Linked DNA regions of Homo sapiens: region 2 is linked to region 1. Evidence: promoter capture Hi-C in human tissues and cell types (Jung and others, 2019). All regions are on one chromosome and are shown on one strand. The core of a region is centred on a gene start or on the middle of the fragment in contact, and the rest is flanking DNA. Distances in the headings are between cores, read along the strand shown.

Region 1 (2,700 bases), core at 122-2,621:
AAATTTAACCATATGGTAAGGAGAGAATTAGAATTTCATCACATTAGAGCAAAATGTAATGAAAAGAGTCCAACACCTGGGGCCAACTCCGAAAGCCACAATTAAAAGGTTTTTAATGAAACCAGAGAAACCAAAAATTGCATAGTCTTCAGTACTTCTGCCATATAAGAAAGAGTTATTGGAAGGTGTTGGGAAATATTGTTTTTACTTATGTCATAAGGATGAAAACCAGCTGCTAAATACCATGTGTACCCAGAGACCGAACTCAGGAGTGAGATGACCGCGTGTACCAGTGCCCATCCGGAGAGGAGCACTTGTTTTTACATTCTCCCTTCCCGAACCCTCCAAGAACAACCGAGGCTGATCCAGATGTCCTTAAATGGCTTCCGGGTAAATAAATATGCATAAATGCCTCACTTCGTGTGGGAGCGGATTTGACTCCTGGTGAAGTTGACTCTTTTGAAGCAATCAGATTTTCATCTTAAGGAAAGTTTGAGAAACCGGTTTGTTTGTTTGTTTTCTTCCTGTTTAGGAAATTGTGTACTTCACAATTACCATCACTGTAACAGTTATTTGGAGACCACTGCAAAATCACTGCCACCCCACCTTAAAAAAAAATGGGCTGCATGATCACTTGCTCTTCATTTTGCTTTTTTCTTTCTTTTTTTCCAATCTGGGTAGGAAATGGGCAGTGGCGGGTGTGGAAACGAGGCAGAGTGTTCGGGGGGACGACTGCTTTGCTCTCTGACCAGCTGAAAACCTAGAGTGAATTTTGGGCAAGCCAGCTGGGACACCACCTTCTCTCGGAAAGTCCCATCCCCAAATCCAGACCAGTCATCCTACGAACAGGGGTGGAGTATAATTCTCGCCCGGAAGGGTAATTTAGCACAAGCTGAGACAGCAGTGGCGAGGGAAGGGCAGTGGGGGGTGGGGTGCGGTGGGTGGGGGCGTCTGCTTTCCACAGGACTCCCAGGCTTCGCCGCCGATCTACAATTTGCTGAAGGAGCAAAGAACATCCTCGGCTCTAAGTAGGGCTTTTAGTGTGCTCATTGATGAGTGAAAGTCGCCACACATGTCAAGCTAAAGGCAGTTGTTGGGTTACTAACAGGACCCAGCGCCTTGCAAACATATGCGCTAAGCTGTGTATACAGATGGCAGGCAGAATAATGGAGCAGGCGCCTTTTATAAAGCTCTAGCTGCTGCCTGTCTTCAGACCTGGGAAATGAAACTATTCAGACTTGCGGCCAGATAGCGCCTGCGATTGTTTGTTACCGTTTTAATCCTATTAATTAAAACGTTAACCTGATTGGGTAGAAAGCGCTGTCCCAACAGGCGAGTCTTCTTCATAATAACCTACTCAGAGATAATGATGTAAAAGACTCCCCCGTCTGTGGCGGCGGCTGTTTGATGGGTCCGGAAATCTCTTGAAGGTGAATCCAAGCAAGATAAACGGTGCGGAGAGGAGGCGCGGGGCTGGGCTCAGAGCGGCGGCGGCGGCGGCTCCACTCCCTCCGCGCCCACCCTCCCACCATGCGGGGCCGCGGCCCATGGTGAGCCCCAGCAGCCAGCACCATCGGCTGGAGACGAAGAAGAAGAAGAAGAGGAGGCGGCGAGCGCGGGGGAAGGCGAAAAAGAAAAAGAAAGAAGGGGAGAGGGCTCCCGGCAGCACCAGGACCGACGCGCGCACCAGCTCCGGAGCCCAGCTCGCGCGCGTCTGTGGGGCCGCCTGACTCCGGGGCCGAGGCGGCGGCGGCGGCAGCGGGCGCGGCGGCCCGGGCTGCGCGCCGGCGCGGGACCATGGAGCGCGGGATGCACCTCGGTGCAGCGGCCGCCGGCGAGGACGACCTCTTCCTGCACAAGAGCCTGAGCGCCTCCACCTCCAAGCGCTTGGAAGCGGCTTTCCGCTCCACGCCCCCGGGCATGGACCTGTCCCTGGCGCCGCCGCCTCGGGAACGCCCGGCGTCCTCCTCCTCGTCGCCCCTGGGCTGCTTCGAGCCGGCTGACCCCGAGGGGGCAGGGCTGCTGTTGCCGCCGCCTGGAGGAGGCGGCGGCGGCAGCGCGGGAAGTGGCGGCGGCGGCGGCGGCGGGGTGGGTGTCCCCGGGCTGCTAGTAGGTTCAGCCGGCGTTGGGGGCGACCCTAGCCTAAGCAGCCTGCCGGCCGGGGCCGCCCTTTGCCTCAAGTACGGCGAAAGCGCGAGCCGGGGCTCGGTGGCCGAGAGCAGCGGCGGCGAGCAGAGCCCCGACGACGACAGCGACGGTCGCTGCGAGCTCGTGCTGCGGGCCGGAGTAGCCGACCCGCGGGCCTCCCCGGGAGCGGGAGGTGGTGGCGCGAAGGCAGCCGAGGGCTGCTCCAATGCCCACCTCCACGGCGGCGCCAGCGTCCCCCCGGGGGGCCTGGGCGGCGGCGGCGGCGGGGGTAGCAGCAGCGGTAGCAGTGGCGGCGGTGGCGGTAGCGGTAGCGGCAGCGGCGGCAGCAGCAGCAGCAGCAGCAGCAGCAGCAAGAAATCCAAAGAGCAAAAGGCGCTGCGGCTTAACATCAATGCCCGAGAGCGCCGGCGGATGCACGACCTGAACGACGCGCTGGACGAGCTGCGCGCGGTGATCCCCTACGCGCACAGCCCCTCGGTGCGAAAGCTCTCCAAGATCGCCACGCTGCTGCTCGCCAAGAACTACATCCTCATGCAGGCGCAGGCCCTGGAG
Region 2 (2,700 bases), core at 179-2,678, 360 kb after region 1:
ACTTTTTAACTATTACAAATAATGTGGCTATGGGCATTCATGTACCAGCTTTAGTGTGAATATGTTTGCTTTTCCCTCGGGTATATACTCCTGGGTCCTTTGGTAACTCTATACTGAATCATTTGAGGAACTGCCAGACTGTTTTCCAAAGTGGCTGCACTATTTTACATTTACACCAGCAATGTAGGAAAGTTCCAACATCTACAAGTACCTTACCTTACAAGATTTGCAAAAATGTTTTCCAATCCTATGAGTTATCTTTTCACTTTCTCTATGGTGTGTTTTTTGAAGGCTGAAAGTTCTTAATTTTTATGTTCACTTTAGGTACATTCTCTTTCATTGCTTACACTTTTTGTGTCATATCTAAAAAAATAACTGCCTAATCTAAGATCTCAAAAATATATGCCCATGTTTGCTTCTAAAAATTTTATAGTTGTAACTCTTACATTCTGTTTTTTTGTTAATTTTGAGTTCATTATTTTGCATGTGGGTATCCACTTGTCCCCTCACCATTTGTTGAAAGATTATTCTTTTCCCCCCATGTAATTGCCCTAGAATTCTTGTTGAAAATCAATTGACTGTGAATGTAAAATATTTATGAACTTGATTCTATTCCATTGATCTGTATGTCTTATCCTATGCCAGTACTGCACTGTCTTGGTTGCTGCAGCTTTGTACTAAGTGTGAATCCTCCCATTTTATTCTTTTTCAAGAACTGTTTTGCCTATTCTGGGTACTTAGCATTTGCATGTGAATCTTAGTTCAGTTTATCAATTTCTGCAAATAAGTCAGTTGGAATTTTACTTTTTGTGTTGAATCTATAGATCAATTTTAGTGAGAATTGTGTCGAATCTGTATTTCCCTTTAACAATATTATACCTTCCAATATACGAGCTCAGGGATATCTTTCATCTCTTTAGGTCTCCTTTAATTTCTTTCAACAATATTTTCTAATTTTCAGAGTATACATTTTATATAACTTATTAAATTTATTCCAAAGTATTTTATTCTTTTTATGCTATTACAAATGCTATCATAAGTAGAATTGTGTCCTAAATTTTATTTTTAGTTTGTTTATTGCTATGGCGTAGAAATATAACTCATTTTTTATATTGATCTTGTATCCTGCATACTTGTCAAGCTTGATTGTTAGCTCATACTTTTAGTGTATTTTTTAGGTTTTTCTATATACAAATCACTTTATCTTCAAATAGAGATAGACTCATTTCTTTCTTTCCTATCTGAATGCCTTTTATGTATTTTTCTTGCCTGTTGTACTGCCTAGAATCTCTAGTACAATTTTGAAAAGGAGTCATGAGAGTATATATCCTTTCCTTATTCCTGACCTTAGAAGAAAAGCATTTAGTGCTTCACTGTTAAGTGTGATGTTAGCTATGGTTTTTTAGTAGCTTTTGTTTATTAAATTGAGGACTTCCCTTCTATTCCTAGTTTCCTTCATGATTTTATCATGGAGGAATATTGAATTTTTTATTTTAGCTTTTTTTGAGATGAAAATAACTAACATAAAATTAACTTTTCTAAAGTGAAAAATCCAGTAGCATTGAGTACATTTACAATTTTGTGCAACTGCCACTGCTATCCAATTCCAAAACCTCTTCATTGCCCTAAAAGGAAATATGTAGCCACTTAGCAGTTGATCCCATTCCTCCTATCCCCTGGCAACTACCGGTCTTTCTGTCTCTATGGATTCCCCTCTTCTGGATAGTTCATATAAATGGAATCATATAACATGGGACCTTTTTGTATCTGGCTTTTTTCATTTAACAAAGTTTTTGTTATTGATACATAATAGTTGTACATATTTATGGAGTACATTTGATATTTTGACACATGAATACAATGTATAATGATCAAATCGGAGAAGTTAAGATATCCATCATCTCAAACACTTACCATTTCTTTGTTGGGAACTTTCCAAATCTTCTCTTTTAGCTGTTTTGAAACATATAATGTATTATTGTTAACTACAGTCACCCTACTGTGCTATTGAACATTAAAACTTATTCCTTCCATGTAACTGTATTTTTGTACTAGTTAACTAACCCCTTCCCACCCTTCCCCACCTCTGGTAACCACCATTCTACTCTATCTCCATGAAATCAATTGTTTTAGCTCCCATTAACATAATGTCCTCTGGTTCTGTCCACGTTGCTGCAAATGACAGAGTTGCATTCTTTTTATGGCTAAATAATATTCCATTGTGTATGCATACCACATTTTATTTATTCATCTGTTGATAGATGCTTAGGTTGTTTCCATATCTTAGCTATTGTGACTAATGCAATAATCTTCTCCTGTGCCCATTGATCATGTCGCTTTTATCCTTTATTCTACTGATTTAGTATATTGTATTATCATTATAGTGATATGCTGGCTGAAAGCTTCTGACTTTGAAGAGCTGGTCAAGAAATAAATCATTTAAAACTCATTTTTTACTCAAAGTAAAAGATACATAATTTAGTAATTCCTTTTTCCAGCTGAACACAATTTTTTTTCTACTTCTTATAAGAAGTTTATTTTAACAGAACAACGTCTTAGTGTTGTCATCACTCTTATTTATGGGACTACAAATAGTGATGTAACTAAAGAGTTAAGAATTATATAAGGTGTGAACAGATGATTAAACACTTTAAATTTGTAAAATATTGTGGACTATAATTAATCTGTTAGATAAGCCAA

The links. The method cuts DNA at HindIII sites, captures the fragments that hold promoters and counts their contacts. A contact is called where the count stands out against the background at its distance.
Region 2: a fragment that was not itself captured here is called in contact with the fragment with the promoter of BHLHE22 in region 1 in 1 of the 25 tissues and cell types used here (dorsolateral prefrontal cortex).

What each region holds. Positions count from the first base shown.
Region 1 is chr8:64,578,994-64,581,693 of GRCh38, forward strand. It overlaps BHLHE22 (basic helix-loop-helix family member e22), which reads left to right and starts at 1,372. Exons shown (of 1, transcript NM_152414.5): 1 at 1,372-2,700. The coding sequence starts at 1,798. LOC124900252 reads right to left here and starts at 1,019. Exons shown (of 2, transcript XM_047422518.1): 1 at 1-1,019. The region is part of intron 1 of BHLHE22-AS1 (BHLHE22 antisense RNA 1); the gene reads right to left. RefSeq lists an enhancer at 2,160-2,239. The HindIII fragment of the contact is 20,885 bases long and covers 1-2,700 here.
Region 2 is chr8:64,934,361-64,937,060 of GRCh38, forward strand. No RefSeq gene overlaps it. Among named protein-coding and RNA genes, the nearest start is that of CYP7B1, 140 kb to the left of the region's middle. The HindIII fragment of the contact is 3,935 bases long and covers 1-2,700 here.